7 separate regions of the Homo sapiens genome follow, and regions 1, 3, 4, 5, 6 and 7 are each linked to region 2. Evidence: promoter capture Hi-C in 16 types of primary human blood cells and fetal thymus (Javierre and others, 2016). All regions are on one chromosome and are shown on one strand. The core of a region is centred on a gene start or on the middle of the fragment in contact, and the rest is flanking DNA. Distances in the headings are between cores, read along the strand shown. Region 1 overlaps KIF21A (kinesin family member 21A). Region 2 holds the start of SLC2A13 (solute carrier family 2 member 13). Region 3 overlaps KIF21A (kinesin family member 21A). Region 4 overlaps KIF21A (kinesin family member 21A). Region 5 overlaps ABCD2 (ATP binding cassette subfamily D member 2). Region 6 overlaps KIF21A (kinesin family member 21A). Region 7 has its middle 20 kb from the start of KIF21A.

Region 1 (3,312 bases), core at 373-2,872, 780 kb before region 2:
GGAGAATGGTGTGAACCCGGAAGGCGGAGGTTGCAGTGAGCTGAGATCGCGCCACTGCACTCCAGTCTGGGCGATAGAGCAAGACTCTGCCTCAAAAAAAAAAAGAAATGATACGAGATCCTTTTCAGGCATCTTAGCAGTTCAAACGGAGTAGCAGGTAGCACTTCAGAAAATGTTTTAAAAGAGAAAGCCCTGTAGCCATTTTTTATACTCTTAATTCTCTCCACAGCCAAGAACCTAGAGCAGAGATGAAATTTTTCTTGGGAATTCTTAAGCCAGGTGGTTCTTTCAGGAGATGACCTTTAGGCCACCACTTCACATCTCTCTCTAATGTCCCACAGTGGCATAACTAAATAGGCTTTCTCAGAGCCTGAAAGATCAAATTTATCTTAAGAGATTCTCTCCTTTGCTTAGGACTAGATCCGAACCATAGCAGAATGTTTTATTTGAGTTTTGGTAACTTCTGTTTAGACACTTAGAATAATAAAACACAAACCACATGTTGCGAAGCCAATAGCTCAAAGATCATGTGTAAGAGCCTGGAGATGTTTTTTGATTGGCTTAACCAGTGTTTTAATAATCCGTGAAATCTATGTAAAAATCCGTATTTAAGAATTCTCTTGAAAAAACAAAGGATCTGGTAGCCTTAGGCCCATATTCCCACACAGCAAAAATGAGCAAAACTTGATGGTGGCTATTTCCTTTTAGATGGGGCATGTACTCTCCAGGAAATCATAATGATGAACCGTTCATTGTATATCCAGCTAAATTAGTCATTTGCATTACCTGATTAACCACTGTGGGCCTTAAATATATACTATCCATTGCACAGTATTATTATTTCAGGTCCTGATTCAATCCATTCATTCAACAATATTTAATAAGCACTGCAAGAATTCTTTGTTTTCAAACATTGTATGATTGTTAGTCAAATCACCTACTATCAAATGCTACCACATTCAACCTGATATGTACCATAGCTATCTCACACATTTAACTGCATGTATAATTTATATCATTTTTTAAAACCCTACAAATACGCATCATAGCTTCATAAATTTTTAACACATAATAATTACAGATTAGATTATTAGTAAAACCACCTCAAGGCACAGTTAAACAAATAAGAAACACTTAAGAACACACTAGAATGCTAAAATTTTAAAAATCTCCTGCCAATCTAAATGACTGAGATTGTATGCCACTACAGAGTCTACAATTTAGTTAATCAGCAGCTTAAGAATCACCCTCCATAATTGTGTTATCTAGTGGGAAAAATATAAGAATACAGTAAAGCCCAATTTCCACCAAGGAGAATTTTTTTTTTTTTTTTGAGACGGAGTCTCGCTCCGTCGCCCAGGCTGGAGTGCAGTTGCGCGATCTCGGTTCACTGCAAGCTTCACCTCCTGGGTTCAAGAGATTCTCCTGCCTCAGCCTCCCGAGTAGCTGGGACTACAGGCACCTACCACCACGCCCAGCTAATTTTTTTTTTTTTTTTTTGTATTTTTAGTAGACACGGGTTTTCGCCGTGTTAGTCAGGATGGTCTCCATCTCCTGACCTCCTGATCATCCGCCTTGGCCTCCCAAGTGCTGGAATTACAGGCATGAGCCACCGTATCTGGCCAGAGAAATTTTTTAATATAAATTTTTTCAGTTACCACTTAAAGGGAAATATGATTAAAAAAACTAAATAAAGAAGAGCTTTAGTAAAACCATGCCCTCTTGCTAATCTATTAAGAGTCAAATCTGAACCTATGTGTTAAATAGTGATAACAAATAATGGTGTAAAACATGTTTACCTGATACTTTTAGTTCTCCTTACCTTGTTCTTAGGTTTCACTTCACCACAAAGCTTCATGAGATCTGAAGACAGCGTGCTATGTGCAAATAAATAATTAAGCACAAGATTAAATAGAAAATTATTATAGAAAACTATAGCTCCTCTATATCAACGACTACAAAAAATTTATATGCCTATGGGAAATACAGAAAGACAATATTTAAAGTCAAAATGAATTAATTTAAAAATAATTCATTTATGTTCCTTAAATATTTCAATATTTTCATTTTAAAATTTATGATAGTTAAGCATGACTTAACTTGGTTTCTATTTACTGTTTCTAAGTGCTATTCACTAGGCCATTAGATTGAAAATTATTTCTGTTTTATGGTAATTGTTTGATACAAGATGAAAGTATTTAAAATATGTAAATAAGTCAACTCTATTGTTTCTAAAGGCCTTCTTACCTTCCTTCTGATCCTGGGCTGTTTAAAGGAGCATCCTCATCAGTACTATCCTCTACATTTTCTACAAAAAAATGTTTAAAATGTAAGCATTATCCCCATGTCACAGTTTGAATGGTGACTGCAATCCATAGGCTGTAATAAACAACAGCTCAACATCTCAATATGGGCACGATGGTTTTAGTAGCTGAATCTAAATAGACAGAATTGTAGAAAAGTATTTCTAAAAACTCTCCTTTGATTGTGTGTTCTAGAATGAGTAAAACATGTTCAAATAGGAAAACCATGACTTTGAATGGTAAACTGTAGAAGAGTAACATCCTTCTGAATGAGATGGGTACATATGAATACTGAAGAGTCATGTACGTATCCTGTACCATCCAAACATACAATAATCCACTGTTTAAAAATATAAAGTAAATGCTACATGAGCCTCCTTTAATGTACTGAGTCAACCAAGAATACTACATAAAGTGTAAATATAGTTGTTATACTTTATCAGTTATGCCAATGTACTTGAATATTTTTCCTTTTTTAATTTTTGTATTTTTGCCTACATACAGAGAGAAGGTGTGCATGAGGGTGTTCAGAAGTCACACATCAGCATGCAGCTCATTCACATGAACACAGAAGACAAAAACAATAGGCTTGCATGCAACAGCTCTGTAAACTAATACAAATAAACCACTGCTATTTCAGAACAACTGTAGTAGACTAGTGAAAAGGGAGAAGAATTAAACATATAAAACTGTTAGGAAGTCAGTAAATAAAACAGCCACAGAAAGTAAACGACTTAAAATGCCAGCGAGCCCCTAACATAGGTGTAGGTTTTTTTAATGTATATTTTATTATAAAAATCATTCAATAAATCTAAAGACAAAATTATGAGCAACATATACATTAAAGAAAAATATATAGGGTTCATCCCCTTTTAATTTTTAATTTTATATAATACAGGTAGGCTATGGCACCATTAGTCAATTGATTCATTTCTCTCCACAAATGTTCTCTTCCTTTCTCATTGTTCAGTAATACTTGGTATTATTACCTAAAATAGAATCATATCTA
Region 2 (3,176 bases), core at 336-2,835:
GAATTAAGGAAGTGAATATGACCTTTAATAGATAATTTGGTTCCCAACTGGAAAGCAGGAGAGGAAAAACAAAGAGGAGAATGGATAAAAAAGGATTCAAATGAAAAAGTTGGAAAAACAGAGGAGAATGGAATTTACTTGGGAAAAGAATGAAAGCTGAAAGGCAATAGAAAAAGCATAAAAGCAAAAGGAGATGCCATCTAAAGACAAATGCTAGATAAGCAAAGAGGGCAGGGGTCGCTAATAAACCTTTCAGAGTCCAGAATTACTTAACTCTAAATATTATCTCACTGTAACTTGACGATGGTCTAGGTTCCAGGCTGGGAGCCCCAGAAAACGAAAGGGGCTAGCAGTGGAGAGGCAAGGTGGGACAGTGCAGGAAAGCAGAGACCCTCGTAAGCTCAAGAAGCAGCATCAGGTTAGGCTGGATCAAGGAAAGAGCTGGTGCTCAGCTAGGTTTCTGGAAGTGCTGAGAGGCAACAACCACTTGGACTGACTGGTCCGTGGCCTATCAAAGATTCCACGTGCGCTCGAGGGAGACTAGAGTGACACCCCCTCCCCCCCGACCCTCCCACCTCCCGGGAGAGCCTTGGAGGCTGGACCAACAAACAGATGGGCTCTGGAGGCCAGAGAAGTGGAGGATTCTCTGACCCTGGGAGACCAGACGGGGACCCCGATGGGCAAGAGGCACGCAACACCCAGGGTCAAGGGCGGTGACAATGGGATCCCGGGCGCCCTTCACGGAGCCCGAACTCACCGATGCCGAGTCCCACGACCAGGCGGCCGGCGAGCAGTGTCTCCTTGTTGTTGGCCGCAGCCAGCACCGCGGAGCCGGCGGTGAAGAGGGCACTGGCCAGGAGGATGGCAGCGCGGCGGCCGAAGACGCCGTTGAGGGCGCCTCCGGCCAGCGCCGAGACGGCAGCCGCCCCCACCGTGCTGGACACCAGCAGCTCCTGCCACAGCGCGTCCAGACTGAGCTGCCGCTTGAGCAGCAGCATGGCCCCTGACACCACCCCGGTGTCATAGCCAAACAGGAAGCCGCCCAGCGCGGAGAAGACGGCCACCACGTACACGAAGGCGGGGGTCTCGTCCTGCTGGAACTGCCGCCGCGCCGCGCGCTCCAGGTCCCCGACGCCGCCGCCGCCCGCGCCCGCGCTCTGCAGGCTGGTGCTCGATTCGGCGGCAGCCAGGAGGCTGCACTCCCCGGCCGCGCTCGCCGCGTCCGGCTCCGGCTGCTTCCTGCGCCGCTCGCCCATCAGGCTGCTCAGGCTCCGCAGCGTGTACTCCACATTCTCGCTTGCCTTGCGGGACATAGGGCAGGGGCCCGGGGCTGCCCGGGGGGACGCGGCTCCGCGGGCCGGCAGTCTCGGCGAGCTAGACAGCCCGAGCCGGCGGGAGCAACCGCCGCTGCCGCCGCTTTCTTCCTCCCGGCTTCCGCTCCGGCTGCCACGGCAGCAGCCGCCGCCACGGCCGCTCCGGGGAGAAAGTTGCTGCCCGCCGCGCTCCGACGCTGCGGAGTTGGAGCCCGGCGGGTCTCACTCCACACTCACGCCCCGCGCCTGCCGAGCTGGCGCTGCGGAGCGGGCGGGAGGCGGGACCGCGGGTCACGTGCAACCCCGGGCCGGCGGGGCGGGGCCCGGGAAACGTCCCGCCCCCTCCTTGGGCGGGGCCAGGCTCAGCCCGCCCCGGACCCCTAAACCCCGCCCTCCCGGTGGGTGCGACCTCTGACCTAGGCTCCCTCATTTAGGGCTCTGGCAACCGTATGGAATTAACCCTGCCTTCCGAGCTGCAGCGGTGGAGCAAGCCAATGTGGCGATGCCATCAGGCAACAGGCTTCCAGACGGGAAGCCACCCAGAATGTTTGCCGTGTTTGGAGAGGAGGGAGAGAGCACCTAAACCAGCCTCACTGTCCTTCCAGCAGCCTAGAGAGAGGGCTGGAAAAAATATCCTAGAATAGGACCTAGCAAGTACCCTTCCTTTTATAGTATTGTGACATTACCCAGCGTGGTCTACTTCCCTGGCATTAAATGTGTTTGTTCTGGAGCAATTCAGGGCTGCATGCTCCCATTTCTATAGCTAGTTTCCACTCTCATCGCCAGTCCCTCCTCAATTTATGCTTATTTTAAAGGAATGGTACATTTGATTCTTTGAGGACAGAGAACATATCTCTGTGGTGAATCCCAAACCCTCCTTCCATGGATCCCCGACCTGTAAAAGAAAATTCACATATATGCATTCCACTCATGTAACGGGTAATTCCCAGAAATAGAAAGAAAACTCAAGACCCTGATTTGTGATTCGGCAGGCAGTCTCCATTTCCCCGCCCCAACATGCTAACCAAAAGGTAGGATAGCTTCTCTCCTGAGAATCCCCACTGTTGCCCTCCATGAGGCACTGTTTTAACAGCCTCATTTACTTGAAACAAAGCAAAGATAACGTTATTTGCAACCAATTTTTTAAACTGTTGAGTGAATTAACAGTTGTTGGTTCATTTGGGGTTTGTTTCCCCCTTTAATTTAAATGTTTTTAAAATATACAGTTGCGCATCAGGGGCTAAAGATAGTTTGTTTTGTTTTGTTTTGTTTTTGAGACAGATTCTCGCTCTGTCGCCCAGGCTGGAGTGCAGTGGCGCTATCTCGGCACACTGCAGCCTCCGCCTCCCAGGTTCAAGCGATTCTCCTGCCTCAGCCTTCCTAGCAGCTGGGACTGCTAAAGATGTTTTGTGCCTCTAATTTGCTTTCATTCTTCAGGCTGAGGGCAAAAAGTCAAGCATCATATGATTCTATTCCTACAATTCCACTGCTCTTTTATTTCCCTTATTTGAGCAAAAGCTTTCTTAGCCTGGGGCCTATTTTTCATGCAGCTATAACTTTTTTCCTTTCAGACAAAAGGATTTTGTCATTCCTGTTTCAGTAAAAACTTATATTAGAATTTGTCAAAACTGCTTTCGTTTTGATTATCAGTCACGATTATCTCTACAATATAGTACTTTCCTTGCCAGCAACAAGGAAAAATAAACTAATGAAGCCAGACGGCTTAACTATTTAAATGTTATCGTCTGGCTTTAAAGCAAGGCTCTACCGTCATTCCCAGGCATCAGTTAAACAGAGAGAGCCTTTAGATCTGCAGCAATGAACTCTTTAATATTCAGACCTCGGACAATATTGCAGGTGAGA
Region 3 (3,159 bases), core at 300-2,799, 760 kb before region 2:
CCTGGTCTCTTTCAAGCTGAGTATCCCGAATTTTATGTTGCAGCATCATTAGCTTCTCTTCATACTGCTTTTTCAGAGTCTGCAGTCTTTTCTGGCTGTTTTCTAGTTCATCAATCAGCTTTTGCTTAATTGCAATTTCACAAGTAATGTTTGCCAAGTCTGCTTGATAATTGGCTATTTATAAAAGAAGAAAATAAAAATCCTGGTGCTAGGCCAAAATATCAGAATTCTAGCTTTCAAGCAGACCATAAAAACCATCAACTAGGTATTTTTATTCACTTAGTAGTTATTAGAAAAATTTCCTGGAAAAACCAACAACCAAAAGGTGAATGAGATAAAGAGTGTTCATTTTGGTCAAGGACAATGCTATTTGTATTAGGTAAGAATGGAAATCACACAATGACTAAATCCAGTAAGAGAAGTAACTCATTTGTTTAGCACATAAGCCTTGGAAGGCAAATGTAGGTCAGTGGTCACAGAAGTTTCTTTCATCAAGTATGAAATAGAGAATGTTAAGAGTTTTCTGTCATGGTTTAAACAACTTCCCAAAATGAATTTTTGCCCTTATACCAAAGGGCAAGTACCTTTTTCATCTGATTCAGAATCTGATTCATCAGAACTTTCACCCCCATCAATGTCATCTTCCTCCTCCTCCTCCTCCTCTTCTTCATCCTCATGATCACTCACTTCTTGACTTTCTTCCTAAAATGTGATTTGTAAAAATTAATAGCACAATATTGGCAAAACAAACTGACTCCCTCATTGAGAGAGGCTGCTGGAGTACAAAGTACGGAAACATAAAAAAATTCACTTGTCATCAGTATAAAAATGTTAAGGTTATTACAGAGTAATTTTGTCTTAAATCAAAAAGTATTTCATCTCTCATAGTATTCTACCCCTGACTCCCCAACACAATGCTTTCACAATACATAAGATTGAGAGTTGTCAATATTTTATAGCTTGTATCTCTGAAGAAACATCTTCAAAGAAATAGATTAAACAGAATGCATCATAAGCAGTTCACTTTTCTACAAGTAAGTTAGTAAGTTATCATCAACCAAGAACAACCAAACCTGGTGACTAAAACTGACAAGTTCATTCTTTCATACTTACCACTTCTAATTCATTGTTTTCTCTTTCCGAAACACCCTTTTCTTCTTTCTTCTCTTGGTCAGTGTCTGTATTATCCTCTTTACCAGCCACACTAAAAAAAGGAACATAAGGGTATGGTGTTAAAATAGAAAGGAAAATTATTCACTTTTTCTCCCTCAGATTTTTAGAAGCCATCAATGATTTGTGAAAACAAACTTTAAATGTTGGTCACTTAACTGAGCAAAGCTATTCTATCTGATGCTTCAGAGAAAAATGGAAATTGCCAATCAATCAACAGTGTAATGATTTATATCACTGGAGAAAAGCTTATTTTCAGAAAACACTGAGGAATAGATTATGCCCGAAAGCACGAGACCTCGACACCCCTAAGAACTAGTCACAGTAGCAGCCAATTAACTAGAATGTAAGGCAATTTAAATTGAAAAGAAATCAAACATTTTTGTTTTCTCATCTGAATACAAAAAAACTTCTCTCATATAAATACAAAGATATAAAAAACTACATTTTCACTGATGTCCTAATACATTTAAGAGTAAATTTAAAGTTCCAGTTTAAATCTGCCCACAGTAAGCTTGTCTACACTAGCTATATCCATCAGTATTTTCAGGTCTCCTTCAGGTAGTGGCACAGGCTCTTTTTTCTTAGGCTGCCCGTACAGCACAAGGCTACTTCTCATTATGGTCTCACACAATGTGTCTTTGCATACCAAAAACTGTCTAATGTTCAGGCTGCCCTTTGATTGAATAGAAAATTTCAGGGTCTGCCGCAAGATTCACCTTATAATTGGAAGCTCTCCTCTTAAGTTACCTAGTACCTACAGCCATAACTACACACATACCAGGGAATGATTATAGCTAAATTAATTCAGCCCTGGTGGCCCTGAGGAAAAGAGAGAAGTTTCGTACACCCAAATAACTCGAATCCTTTGTGGGTTTAGCAATCAACTATGCACAGAAATTACACTATTGATCACTAGACTCACATATTTAATTAAGCTAAACAACATTAAGTGAACTTTAAATGAATCTATATATGAACTATTTCCTTTTGTGCTATAGTAGCATTTTAAAATCATTAAAAAGCCCTTTGAGAGGCTGAGGCGGGCAGATCACGAGGTCAGGCATTTGAGTCCAGCCTGGCCAACATAGTGAAACCCCGTCTCTACTAAAAATACAAAACAGCCTGGCATAGTGACGCACACTTGTAATCCCAGCTACTAAGGAGGCTGGGGCAGGAGAATCGCTTGAACCCGGGAGGTAGAGGTTGCAGTAAGGCAAGATTGCGCCACTGCACTCTAGCCCGGGCAACAGAGCGAGACTCTGTCTCAAAAATAAATTAATTAATTAATTACAATAAATTTAAAAAATAAATAAATAGAATACTCAAATAATGCAATATTCTAAAAGTAAAATTCCTCTACAAAAAAAACTTTACAACTTTATCAGAATAGCTTAATAACAGCTATCATGTTTTCATATATTCTTCTATATTAAATAATTTCCCTAATACATGGATTGATTTTTAGCTTCTAGGCTAAAAACTTAATCTCATTTAGGCCCTATTATAGCTATAACTTTAATGATTAACTCTAGGTTTCTATTCTCAGAGATATTTTTCTACTGAGCACTATGAATATAAATACTTTTCCCTTGTAAGGACTTTTCAGAGTTTGTCATTTATGTTTATGTTATTATTTATTTAGTGTCTGTATTTCTCACTAGGCAGTCAGCTTCCTAAGGGAAGGGATCGTGTCTGTTTGCCTCCGCATTACATCCCTAGTACCCAGGTCCTGGCACATAATGAATGTGAAGTAAGTGTTTGTTAAATAAACCAATCCCTGTGACTATGCATGAGCACCTCTGTTTGAACATGCCTATGTGTCTCATGCACTAGCTCGGTTGGAGCAGAATGGTACAGTTTCAAAGATGCATAAAGATGCATGAGAGACAGCATATATACGGAGAGAGAAGAAAGTACAAGTAGGAGTACCAATACAACAGTCTTAACTGGAAATGAATGAAGTAAATTGTAACAGGGTTCCATGAG
Region 4 (3,345 bases), core at 226-2,725, 690 kb before region 2:
AATACTTTATTATCAAAAGATCTAGCTGATATTTGGCTGACAACCATGTACTACAAACATAGTGTGAAAATCATCTTTAAGAAAGAATTTAAAGCTCTAAATGGCTCTTAAAGAATTCTACACAGTCTTGGTAAGCATCTCATCCAGTTAAACGTAAGACCTAAAGATCAAATAGATACACTAGCTGTTGACAATTAGGGAGTCCCAGAAGCACCATAACTCTGGGAAGAAATCCATGCATGCAGGCTGGTAAAAACAGGTAGGTCTAGCAGTAGGCAGAGAACATTAGGAAAATGAGGTTAAGCAGCAGGCAGTGAAGTCTAAGCAGATATGCAGTCGGCCTCAGGAAAATAATGTCAGCAGGTATAAGAGACCCAATCACAAAGATTTACTTTGATTTATAACAAAAATTTAGAGAGTCAATCAACAAATGTTTATTGAAGGACTCACGAATTAGTCACTGTTCTGAATACTGGGGATCTAGATATTAATAACATGATGAAGATTACTTACTATATACAAGGTTCTGTGCTAAACATTCTGTGATTACAAGTGTTTTGTTTTTTGGATTTTTTTTTTTTTTAATGGAATGGGTTTATCAGAGAGAAAAAAAAAAGCAAAGCAAAATCAGCCTAGGACTGGGAAAACACCATCAAAACACTGCAAGTAACTGTTAGAGGTCACTGTGGACAAGCCTAATGAAGTTAGTCTAAACGCACCTGAGAAACATTGAAAATCTTTCTTAGGAAGGCTGTTCAACAGAACTGAGTTCCTGGCCTTTCCTTAAGTCAGTTTTTTTTGTTTTGTTTTGTTCCTATAGTTAAATTCAAAATCAGGACGGAAATTTTTTTAAAAGTCTGGTAGAGAATGCTTTTTTTTTTTTTTTTTTTTTTTTTTTGAGATGGAGTCTTGCTCTGTCGCCCAGGCTGGAGTGCACTGGCGCGATCTCGAATCACGGCAAGCTCCGCCTCCCGGGTTCACGCCATTCTCCTACCTCAGCCTCCGGAGTAGCTGGGACTACAGGCGCCCGCCACCACGCCCGGCTAATTTTTTTGTATTTTTAATAGAGACGGGGTTTCACCGCATTAGCCAGGATGGTCTCGATCTCCTCAACTCGTGATCTGCCCGCCTCGGCCTCCCAGCAGCCTCGGCCTCCCAAAGTGCTGGGATTACAGGCGTGAGCCGCCGCGCCCGGCCGAGAATGCTTCTTTAAAACATAAATGATTTTAGCTCCCTTATGTCTGAGAAGCTTTCCATGACCTCATCTTCCACTTCTGTAATCTGGCAGGTCATTAGAAAAGACACTTTATTAGTGTCCCTCTCAATCTGCAGGAGATATTTCAAGCTTCACATATCAGCTTCACATTTTGTTACCTTTGACTTGACTTTAACTCCTCCCACCTTTGCCTCTCCCCACCTACTCTCTATTCCAACAATGTTGGCCTGCTTTCTATTTCTGAAACATGCTGGGGAATTTCCCACTCCAGGGCTATTGTATTTGGATTCCCTCTGCTTAGACAGCTCTTCCTCTAAATATAGGCATCACATCCTTTGACCACTTCTTTCAAGTACAAGTGTTATTTGGTTGTTGATATCAGTTCAAGGAAAGCTTAATGATGAACTAACCAGTAAACGAAGCTGGTAACTAAGGTGCAGGGAGCAACAAGCCAGGGTACAAATTATTGGAATAGTGATATAAGGCATGGCCAAAATTCAGTTCCTGGAATCAAGCTATTGAAGAGCCAATAATAAAGTTTTAATTCATTCAGAAAGAAAAAAAAAGTTTATACCTACACCAAGTACTAGAGATGAAAAAAATCAAAAAGGCAACACCTGGCCCTAGTCACTGCCCTTTTAATTAATATTCTCTGATACTCTCAAAGTCTCTGGTTTGTCATCTTTAAAACAGGAATAACAATAAGCTGATTAAAATGCTCAAGTAAAAAAACTTGACAGCCGAGCGTGGTGGTTCATGCCTGTAATCCCAACACTTTGGGAGGCCGAGAAGGGCGGATCACCTGAGGTCAGGAGTTCAAGACCAGCCTGGTCAACATGGCGAAACCCCGTCTCCACTAAAAATACAAAAATTAGCCAGGTGTGGTGGCAGGTGACTGTAATCCCAGCTACTCAGGAGGCCGAGGCAGGAGAATCGCTTGAACCCGGGAGGTGGAGGTTGCAGTGAGCCAAGATAGCACCACTGCACTCCAGCCTGGGTGACAGAGTGAGATCCGCCTTAAATATACATATATATATATATGTACATATATATGTGTATATATATATATGTACATATATATGTGTATATATATATGTACATATATATGTGTGTATATATATATGTACATATATATGTGTGTATATATGTACATATATATGTGTATATATATATGTACATATATATGTGTATATATATATGTACATATATATGTGTATATATATGTACATATATATGTGTGTATATATGTACATATATGTGTATATATAGATATGTACATATATATGTGTATATATAGATATGTACATATATATATGTGTATATATATATGTACACACACACACATATAAATAAAAAAATTTTAAAAAACCTTGAGGATTCACTCTCTAATCTGCAAGGAGCCATACAAATGTTAGCTATTAGTATCATTCATTAACAGACTATAGCACTAACTCAATCATTAAATAGTAAACACCAGAACTAGCATGAAGGCCATGTGTGTGAATGGCTAGGAATGGGGCCAGAAGAAAAATGCAGTATATAAGACATTAATGAGAAAGAAACAGGATTTGGCTACAACAAGGGGTACATAAAAAAAAAGAAATTTGTAAAATGTATCAGAAGACACAGTGTTATGGGAGAGAATGATAGAAAAATATGGCAGTACTAAATTGGGGGTGGGGAAGAACCTTGAAAAATATTAAGTATGAATACAACATCTAATAATGCCAGAATCACGTGAGGAGAACAGAAAATTCTCCAGTAGATACAATTTTGTTCAGTCATGATTATATTTTCCAATATCAATGATACTGACAATTATAGCTTTTAGATTTTACCAAATTTTCCACTATTTATATTATGTTATGAAACACACAAGAAATGAAAATATATTAGCCGGCTACTTTTTAACCAGTAAGGGAACAGTTATGTGAGGCTTCTTCGTATCACTTAGCAAATGTAGCATACAAGGAAAAGATATGGCTTCCTTCATCTTATTACCTATTGAGTTCTAGAAAGGCTATACAACCAACAAAGCAATACCAATAACACTTAATTTTGTGGTCAGATCACCCTGGAAAGAACATTTGCTCCATGGAATGCTCATACTTCACTGGTCTACATCATTA
Region 5 (3,038 bases), core at 362-2,861, 530 kb before region 2:
TCAAAGGTCTAGAAGGGCTTCAAGGATTAATTCCAATAATGCTTGCTACTAGGCTAGATTTGAAGCCATGTACATCATGACAACTTTGGCATGAAATCTGATCAGCCACCTGCCACAGAATGCTGCAGCCAGAAAGAGAGAGAGGAGGAATCCTGTGCAGTCCTTTAGAAAACAGGAGGCCAAAGCATATATAGAGACAGTTATAGTTACTAAGAAGTCAAAAGAAAAAATTTTCATTGATTAAATAGAAATGCAAAAGTAGAGAATGTAGTATTTATGGTTAATGCATGAGATACACTTTGAGTTCCTTATAATGAGAGCCGTGTGCTGTAGTACAGAGTATGTGATCATGGAAGTATCTCACTTTTCTAGTTCTCAGTTTCTTCATCTGTAAAATAGGAAGATTAGATTTCCTAAATTCCACAGGGTTGTTGTGAGGCTTAAATAAGATGTACCTGGAACAGAATAAGTGCTCAACTATTATGATGATGATGAATCAATGGAAAAGTAGGGGAATTGTAAAATTAGCATCTTTATTTGAAGGGGAAATTCTATATGGTTTTATGAGATATTAGTTCTAAAAAAATTTAGCTCATTTTTCTTTAAACCAACTAAAAATAAGCCCTCCCCCCTTCCCCACCACCACCTGTGTTTTCTCCACTTAATCCTTTGGGGGAGTATCAAGTTGTGTGTACATATATTTTTTTCCCCAGATTTTACTTTCCTGGGTTTTAGAGAAAGGACTAAAAGAATGATGTACAAATATATAAATATATTTTTCCCAGTACATGTTACTGGGTAATGATAAATATTTTCCATTAAAATAAATCACTGGATTTTTCCATGTCTTTTAAGAATTACTGGAAACTGATGATAATTCAAATAATACACTAATGATATTAGGTAGGGAGTATCTAAGCTACTAATGTGCAACTTAAGAGAAATATGGGTAGAAAATAAGTGAAATACCCTACCCTCTACTGTGAAAAATTTAGCAAAGTTATTTTTTGAGAAATTTAAGGAAAAACCATCTACCACAAATTAGCACTAGAAACACTTACCAAAGAGAAGGTCTGTGTGTTATAGACAGTAAGGAAATTCCAGCCCCTTTTGCAGCCTGAAATATCTTTCCTTCGACATCAATGCTGACAGCACTGGTACATTCATCCAGCAAGGCATATTTTGGTCTTTTAAAAAGTACACACAAAAATTAATTATTTTGCTATATGAACTATAAGTTTTTCTTTGGACAATATGAGTTGCATTGCTAACAATTTTAATGGAGCAAAAAAGACTATGGCATTATTAAAGGCAATAAATGATAAAGCAAAAAAGTAGTTGTCCCCTTCTTTGGACTATAATATCACATTTTTAATACATTTAAATAGATTTTCTGACGCTTTCTAATAATACAATAAGCTTTATTGTCTTGTAGATGAATGAATCATAAATATGGGACATAGGAAAGATGAGGCAGGTCACTGAGTACATTTTCCTGCAGAAAGCAGGTTCATTGTTGGTGAGAAGGGTCTGACTAACTACATGAAAAATACATTGCAGTAGCTAATTATCAAACAGGCCACAGCCCTGTTAGCAAAGATTTAATGAGAAGATTATTTTATCAGCAATATGAATACCTAAGCATTACTAATGGAATTTCATCACTATAAGACTGCGAGAGTGAATGTGGCTCATCTTACAAATTTATAACACACATTTAACCTCATAATATTGGAACCATACTCCAGAATCAAATTCTTAGGAGGAAAAGTAAATATTTTTCTAAGTATATTGGACAATTTTTTAAGCTTATTTTTTACTTTGATAATGCCTGTCTGTTATCAGAGGCATCTTATCACTTGCCATTGTTTCCCTCTGCTTATCCTTTCTCCCTCTCATCTCACCCCCTGCTCTTACTTTTCTTTGTCCTTTCCCTTTCTTCTTTCAAGTCCCTCTGGACTGTTGGTACTTAGCATGACTTAGCTTAGTTAATGGGAACAAAGTCAACTCTTACACTGTCATTTACTATTCAATTTGGAGTTGAAAATCAGTATCAGGTATTTGCCGGGACAATTTTCTTTACAAAAAAATTCTGATTTTTAAAAATAAAATGACAAAAAAGTTAAAAAAATGAAAATCAGTAATTTCTTATCAGAATAAATCATTATTTGCCTTGTAAGTTACTGTCCTAAAATCGATTTGCTTATTAATAGAATCCAGTTACCTACCACAGGTCAGGTAGTCAGGGCTAATAGATACAGGAGTCAAAGACTCTAAAACTGCTCCCTATGCAAAGAATAAAAGATCAGTGCATGTTCTCCATGACAACATCAACAGAAGTAGTGTCACTGCTTGACCTTTGGTTACTGTTCTGGTTTAAGTATTAAGCATTACTTCTTTGTCTCAGAGTTATTTTCTGTTTTGTGGATGAATGATATTTTTAAGTGAACAAGAGGAAGAAGTAAAGGAAGTATAAAAGTGAAAGGTTGAGTAAAATTTTCCTTTTGTGTAAACCTCTTTCCAGTGATTAACATGTTTATTGCATTTTGGCTTATTTTTCAGAGTGCCTTGATCGAAACAGAGAAAATATACCATTTTAGAATTAGAAAAATGTATGCATCTTACACTCCGTTGTCATAGCAACCTCTACTCTAGCAGATGTAAGATCACATGTTTTAGTTTCCTTGGCAGGGCTGGTGTGTGTCTGTGTGTGTTTGTGTGTGTACTTGAATATATCAAGCAATAGCTAGAATTCGATACTGATATAAGAAAAAAAGCATTAGGTAATATTGTTTCTCAGATTTGCTTTCCTTTTTGCTTTGTGTATCATCAGTAGAATGGGCTTCGTGAAGGATTTAATCTATCCCCTTAAGACAGGAGTTTTTCAATCATTCTTGAGCTATTAAAACATTTAAAATCCTCTCAAAAAGAGAATACTATTGTGATGCTTAGTACTTCCTGCTAAAGTTCTTGATTTTTGCCAGCTCAAGTCTTTCACATCACAATTCAAACTTTAAATCATTTGAGAATGAGGGAAG
Region 6 (3,243 bases), core at 508-3,007, 750 kb before region 2:
ACATGGAGATTCTAACAGACACTCACAAACTAACTAAAAAATGTGTAGGAACTGCAATTAAGGAGCAGTCTACTTATCCTGGTAGAAAAATCAATGCCTATCAATCATAATCTTAGCCTCCTAGTCTCCTGCTTCCAATCTTTTCTTTCGACAATAATCTCAACACAGTACTCGTAGGTACCCCTTGTCCCATTCCACACCTTTTTCCTACAACTCTTGCTTACCCTTACTGTTACTATTATTCAACAATCAACTAAGGTATCACCTAATCCAAGAACCAAATCCTCCATTTGTCTGTACCCTTTCTGCCTCCTCACACCTTTTGGATATCTCTTTTGCATTCTTTATATTATTATTATATTGAAATTTTATAGACCCCAAAACTCTTAGACTTTAGATTCCTAAAGGACAGGGATTATCAACTTTTATTTATCAGCATACTTCTAAACATATAACACAACATTTGAACCAATATTAGGTCATTAACAATTGTGATGTGTGTCATGTGTACATAATATTTACTGGGGGTCAGAAAGTTAAAATAATTCATGCCATTTTAGTTTTCTCTTTTGATAAAGAAAATAAGGTAATTCAGTAAGCGTGAGGATTATGGATGCTGATTAGAGAATAGAGCAACTTGAAGTGTGGTCCCCAGTCTAGCACCAGTCTGCAGATTATTTTTACTTACATAAAATTGGGGAAAATAAATTTATATTAGCCTTCTTTGACCCACAACACCTTGAGTAAGCACAGGTACATACATCCATTTCTTACTTATTTACAAAAAATGTTTAAAGTAATGCAGAAATTGCAAGTAAGCACTTTAGAAACTTCCACAACACTTGAACTTCCTGTAATCAATGACCTCCTCTCATTGAGTATAGATCAGTTCAAGTGTTTTCAAACTCCGATGGTGAGTCACAAATGGGGCAAGCTCTGTATGGTCATGCACAATATTAACTCACCACAAATTGGAAAGAAGGGAAGGACTCGCCTTTAACAAATATTTTGAGAAGTGCTGGGATCAAGGGCTTAAGAAGAATAGTGAAAGTCAGGAATAAGAGTAACTGGCAAGGATCAATTGTATAGGGAAAACATCATATATTAAACAAAACCCAAAATATATAAATTTCAAGAATGATTCTATTTATGAAAAACTCAAAGAAAATAAAATAAAGCTAAAAAAAAGCTATTTATTTTAAAAGTTCACACAAAAAGCACACAATTCTGCTTTAAAGAGAACTATATCACTTAAATATTTTATTATATTGTATATTATATTTCTTACAAATTAAGTTATACTACACATCTTGAAAATGTATCACAATGTTAGCAGTAGTTACTTCTAGGTATTAGAAATATGATTTTTTTTTTTTTTGAGATGGAGTCTCACTCTGTCACCCAGACTGGAGTGCAGTGGCACAATCTCAGCTCACTGCAACCTCCGCCTCCTGAGTTAAAGCGATTCTCCTGCCTCAGCCTCCCAAGTAGCTGTGACTACAGGTGCCCACCACCATGCCCAGCTAATTTTTGTGTTTCTATTAGTAGAAACGGGGTTTTGCCATGTTGGCCAGGCTGGTCTTCAACTTGTGACCTCAGGTTATCCGCCCACCTAGGCCTCAAAGTACTGGGATTACAGGTTTGAGCCACTGTGCCCAGCTATAAATATAACTGATTTTTATTCATGCTTTATACTTTCCTGTATTTTCCAGAATTTTTGCCATAAACTGGTTATGATATTTATTAAACACTGTAAATGTAAAAAAACCAGCTCGAATTTTTTAAAAGACACTAAATTATGCACATAAACATATGGAGCTTATTTTCAAAAATATCCTTGGTCTAATTTTTCTTTTAAGTTTAATTTGTATAAACTTCAAAAAGTGAAGATATTTTGCTCTCCAAGGCTTACACAAAGTACAGTGCTTTTGCACTAGGAATGCAATCCTAAAATTTTAAGCAAAAATTGAGGCACACGAAGAAAGGAATTAGAAGGGGTCATCTCCTTTGAGGGGTTACCACCCATTAAGGAAATAGGTGAGGAACATGAGACTATTTAGCTGTAGCCTAAAACTCAGCAGAAATTCAAGATCCACAGTGAAAATATCTTAGACCACTTATAAGGTAAGCAAACTTTCAAAAGTATTGAAGTTTTCAAGAGTTAAAATAGTAAGGGGAGGACATATATCATGTCTGCTTTGTTTTATAGTTAAGAAATAAATACAGGAAAAAGCTACAATTTAGAAAACCCGAAAAAATTTACACTTGGCTGAAAAAATGAAAATTTTTATTCTGTTATAATAAGACCCCTCTTGATACTGAAGATCAAACTGAAAATATAGAACACAAGAAATATATGATAGTGGAAGGAAAACTGCATCCATACATAGGATGTGCTGGAAGAGACATGAGTTAAGACAAATGCTAATAGTACATAAAAGGAAGAAACATAAAAATGACAATGTTGTATTCTACAAAACAGAACTTTCTTTCTTTTTTTTTTTTTTTTTGAGACGGAGTCTCGCTCTGTCTCCCAGGATGGAGTGCAGTGGCACGATCTCCGCCTCCTGGGTTCACGCCATTCTCCTGCCTCAGCCTCCCGAGTAGCTGGGACTACAGGCGCCCGCCACCACGCCTGGCTAATTTTTTTGTATTTTTAGTGGAGACAGGGTTTCACCGTGTTAGCCAGGATGGTCTTGATCTCCTGACCTCATGATCTGCCCGCCTTGGCCTCCCAAAGTGCTGGGATCACAGGCATGAGCCACTGCGCCCGGCCAAAACAGAACTTTATTTCTAAACCAAACGGATTATAAACTTAAAAGGATTTAATATTATCCAAAATTATTTGGATAATAGTTGTTGATACAGTTTGGATCTGTGCCCTCACACAAATCTCATGTAAAATTGTAATCCCCAGTGTTGGAGGTGGGGCCTTGGTGGGAGGTGATTAGATGTTGGGGGCAAATTTCCCTCTTGGAACTGTTCTCATGATAGAGTTCTCAGGGGATCTGGTTGCTTAAAAGTGTTTGGCACCTTCCTCTCCTTCCTCCTGCTCCAGCCCTGTAAAGTTCTCACTCCCTCTTTGCCTTTTGTCATGACTGTAAGTTTCCTGTGGCCTCCCTAGAAGCCAAGCAGCTGCCAGAATCATGCTTCCTGTAGAGCCTACAGAACTGTAAGACAATTAAACCTCTTTTCTGTATAAATTACCCAGTCTCAGGTATTTATGGCAGTGCAAGAACGAAC
Region 7 (3,116 bases), core at 460-2,959, 640 kb before region 2:
GAGAAACAAATTTCCATTGTTTAAAACACCCAATCTAAGGTATTTGCTATGGCAGCCCAAGCAGACTAAAACAGATTTAGTTACCAAAAAGTAGGGTACTACTGTAACAAATATCTAAACATATTTGTGCAAGTGGCTTTGGAACTGCGTACTGGGTAGAGGCTGGAAGAGTTTTGAGGCACATATTAGAAATATGGGCATTAGTGATTCTTGTGTGGTCTCAGATGGAAGTGAATAACCTGTTATCAGAACTAGAGGAAAGGCAATCCTTGTTATAAAGTGACAAACACTTGACTAAATTGTGTACTAGTGTTTTGTGGAAGGCAGAACTTGCTTGCAATGAAACTAGGTATTTAGCTAAGGAGATATATAAGCAAAGTGTTGAACGAGTGGCTTAGTTCTTCCTGACTGCTTATAGTAAAACGTGAATAGAGAGAGAGGAATTAAAGAAGGAATTGTTACACACAAAAAAACCCAAAACTTGAAGATTTAAGAAGTTCTCAGCTGCCCATATTGCAAAAATAAGAAAGCATATTCTGAAAAGCACACCAGAGGTGTTGCTAGACTGTCACTTGTTAAAGAGTTTATGGAATTATACAAAGAGAAACATTGCAAGTTTGAGCTGAAGGGGATTGAGATGGGATGAAATAAAGGAAGGCTTTTAGACCTCTTGGATTTGATAGGATGGGATGATAGTGCCATTTGGCTGAGAACATGCACTATTCATCAAGAGGCAACAATGACCCTGAAGGTGATTAAGAGGGTGATCAAGGCCACTACCTTAGTTTTAACCAGCCAAACAGCCTCTGCCTGAAGCTGTTGGGGTGGGACCCTGACCTGGAACAAAGGAGCAATGCAGCCACCACAGTGTATCCAGAGAGCAGAACATCAAGCAAAAGAGGATTATCCTCAAGCCTTAAGATCTAATGAAATTTGCCTTACCAGGACTTGGATTTGCTTGGGACCTGTCACTCCTTTCTTTCTTCTGAAATGACCGTTTTTGAATGGAAATGTTTATCTTATGCCTGTTCTACCAGGGTATTTTGAAAGCATATAACTTTTTTGATTTTACAAGTTCACAGCTGGAGATGAATTTTGCCTCACTATATATCATAAGTCCAGTTTCACCCATATTTTATTTAGATGATATTTAGATGAGACTTTGAACTTTAGAGTAGATGCTGGAATTAGTTAAATCTTTTGAGGCTATTGGGATGGAATGAATGTATTTTGCATGGAAGAAAGACATGTATTTTGGGGGACCAAGGATGGAATTTAGGGACTGAATATTTGTGTCCCCCACCCCCAAATTCATATGTTAATGCCCTGACCCCCAATATGATAATATTTCAAGATGGGACCCTTGGGAGATAATTAGCGTTAGATGAGGTCATGAGTACGTGGCCTTCATAATGAGATTAGTGCCCTTATAAAAAAAAGGAAGGAAGACCAGCTCTCTCTCTCTCTCTCACTCCCTCTCATTCTCCCTCACTCTCCCTCTCTGATGATAGAAAATATCATCAGGATATTAAAATATCCCTATCTTTTAGAAAGAGGTCAGAGGGGAAACCAGAGAGCAGGTTTGAGGGGTGAGGACTGCAAGTGCTAAAGCTTGAACAGATTATCAAACTCCAAATTATTCATGTGATGATGCCTACTCATTTGGGAGGGAAAGAGGGAGATCCCTCCCTCCATACACAAAAATTAATTTTTAAGGTATAAAATACCCATATATAAAAACCAAAACTATGTAAGTATTAGAAGTAACTACAAAATATATGATACAAATCAAAAGTTTTATAAAAGAAAAGCTTGACAAGTTGAGTACATAAAAGTTTTAAACTGCTACAAAAAAAGACAACTTGAACAAAGTTAAAAATAAGTGACAAAGCAAAAGATTGCTATATATGTATTACAAAGGATTCATATCCAAAATATGTTTTGTTTTGTTTTGTTTTGTTTTGTTTTTGAGACAGACTCTCACTCTGTAGTCCAGTCTGGAGTGCAGTGGTGCAATCATGGCTCACTGCAGTATCCACCTCACCGGCTCAAGGGATCCTCCAACCTCAGCCTCCAGTAACTAGGACCACACATCCAGCCAATATTTAAATTTTCTGTAGAGAAGGAGTCTCCCTATATTGCTCAGGCTTGTCTTGAATTCCTGGGCTCAAGCGATGCTCTCACCTTGGCCTCCCAGAGTACTGGGATTACAGATGTGAACTACCACGCCCAGTCCCAGAATATGTTATAAATCTCCTACAAATCAAAATGAAGAGACCAAAAAATTTTACAGAATGAGCAAAAGATATGGACTGACCATTCACAGAAGAGATCATACCAAACAACAACAACACAAAATGGTGCTCACCTTAGTAGTAATTAGGAAAATGCAAAATAAGGCAAAAAGTCAATGGCATTTTTGATCCTTTAGATTGTTACTAATAATGGCTTTCTGATAGAATCACAAATGTTGGCAACGTTTGACACTTCTTAGTGTTTTCCATATATTAACTCATTTAATCCTCACAGTAACCCTATGATTAGGTGCTATATTGTCATCCATATTTTAAATATATTAACTCATTTAATCCTCACAGTAACCCTATGATTAGGTGCTATATTGTCATCCACATTTTACAGTTGAACTGAGGCACAATATGGCTTAGTAACTTATACTGAGGTCTCACAGCTAATAAGTGGCTCTAGAGTCAATGCTCTAACCATTTCATTACATTGTGTATCAACTGGTAGCAACCTTTCTGGATGATAATTTCGCTGTAATAAAAACTTTTAAATAAATACACACTCAGACACATGAACTGTCAATTCTTGAGAATTGACAGTTCTGCTCTCTGGAATCAGAGGACTTAGGTTGGAGTATGAATCCACCTAATTACTGCCAAGTGCAAACAAGTCACTTCACTTCTCTGAGTTTCAGAATTTTTATGGTATTTATTTTTATAGATTTAGTGAGTACAAGTACAGGTTTGTTACTTAGATATTTGCATAATAATTTTCATTTTAAAATGAAAATTCTATATGGTTGCATTGTGAAAATTAAAAGAGATTATATATTAGAAACACTTTGCAAATCAAAAACACTTTAAGACATTCTC

The links. Contacts are between HindIII fragments. The CHiCAGO score rates a contact against its expected background, and 5 or more counts as called.
Region 1: a contact is called between a fragment that was not itself captured here and the fragment with the promoter of SLC2A13 in region 2, in 5 of 17 cell types (naive CD8 T cells, non-activated CD4 T cells, total CD8 T cells and 2 more). The highest score is 10.6, in naive CD8 T cells.
Region 3: a contact is called between a fragment that was not itself captured here and the fragment with the promoter of SLC2A13 in region 2, in 4 of 17 cell types (naive CD8 T cells, total CD8 T cells, total CD4 T cells and 1 more). The highest score is 10.3, in naive CD8 T cells.
Region 4: a fragment that was not itself captured here is called in contact with the fragment with the promoter of SLC2A13 in region 2 in 3 of 17 cell types (naive CD8 T cells, total CD4 T cells and total CD8 T cells); the score reaches 8.8 in naive CD8 T cells.
Region 5: a fragment that was not itself captured here is called in contact with the fragment with the promoter of SLC2A13 in region 2 in 1 of 17 cell types (naive CD8 T cells); the score reaches 6.3 in naive CD8 T cells.
Region 6: a contact is called between a fragment that was not itself captured here and the fragment with the promoter of SLC2A13 in region 2, in 4 of 17 cell types (total CD4 T cells, naive CD8 T cells, naive CD4 T cells and 1 more). The highest score is 9.9, in total CD4 T cells.
Region 7: a fragment that was not itself captured here is called in contact with the fragment with the promoter of SLC2A13 in region 2 in 4 of 17 cell types (total CD8 T cells, total CD4 T cells, naive CD4 T cells and 1 more); the score reaches 9.2 in total CD8 T cells.

Annotation. Positions count from the first base shown.
Region 1 is chr12:39,324,017-39,327,328 of GRCh38, forward strand. It overlaps KIF21A (kinesin family member 21A), which reads right to left. Exons shown (of 38, transcript NM_001173464.2): 25 at 2,248-2,308; 26 at 1,823-1,877. LOC101927019 (a long non-coding RNA gene) reads left to right here. Exons shown (of 3, transcript XR_007063276.1): 2 at 2,499-2,606. Among named protein-coding and RNA genes, the nearest start is that of KIF21A, 120 kb to the right of the region's middle. The HindIII fragment of the contact is 455 bases long and covers 1,396-1,850 here.
Region 2 is chr12:40,104,496-40,107,671 of GRCh38, forward strand. SLC2A13 (solute carrier family 2 member 13) reads right to left here and starts at 1,586. Exons shown (of 10, transcript NM_052885.4): 1 at 758-1,586. The coding sequence starts at 1,313. RefSeq lists silencers at 1,020-1,109, 1,120-1,189, 1,210-1,469, 1,490-1,739, 3,121-3,176 and an enhancer at 2,740-2,909. The HindIII fragment of the contact is 3,714 bases long and covers 1-2,829 here.
Region 3 is chr12:39,340,921-39,344,079 of GRCh38, forward strand. KIF21A (kinesin family member 21A) reads right to left here. Exons shown (of 38, transcript NM_001173464.2): 13 at 1,114-1,204; 14 at 585-702; 15 at 1-174. Among named protein-coding and RNA genes, the nearest start is that of KIF21A, 100 kb to the right of the region's middle. The HindIII fragment of the contact is 266 bases long and covers 1,417-1,682 here.
Region 4 is chr12:39,414,360-39,417,704 of GRCh38, forward strand. The region is part of intron 1 of KIF21A (kinesin family member 21A); the gene reads right to left. Among named protein-coding and RNA genes, the nearest start is that of KIF21A, 27 kb to the right of the region's middle. The HindIII fragment of the contact is 264 bases long and covers 1,344-1,607 here.
Region 5 is chr12:39,572,655-39,575,692 of GRCh38, forward strand. It overlaps ABCD2 (ATP binding cassette subfamily D member 2), which reads right to left. Exons shown (of 10, transcript NM_005164.4): 9 at 1,062-1,187. Among named protein-coding and RNA genes, the nearest start is that of ABCD2, 46 kb to the right of the region's middle. RefSeq lists an enhancer at 1,666-2,466. The HindIII fragment of the contact is 389 bases long and covers 1,418-1,806 here.
Region 6 is chr12:39,359,030-39,362,272 of GRCh38, forward strand. The region is part of intron 7 of KIF21A (kinesin family member 21A); the gene reads right to left. Among named protein-coding and RNA genes, the nearest start is that of KIF21A, 82 kb to the right of the region's middle. The HindIII fragment of the contact is 4,505 bases long and covers 1-3,243 here.
Region 7 is chr12:39,461,481-39,464,596 of GRCh38, forward strand. No RefSeq gene overlaps it. Among named protein-coding and RNA genes, the nearest start is that of KIF21A, 20 kb to the left of the region's middle. The HindIII fragment of the contact is 200 bases long and covers 1,610-1,809 here.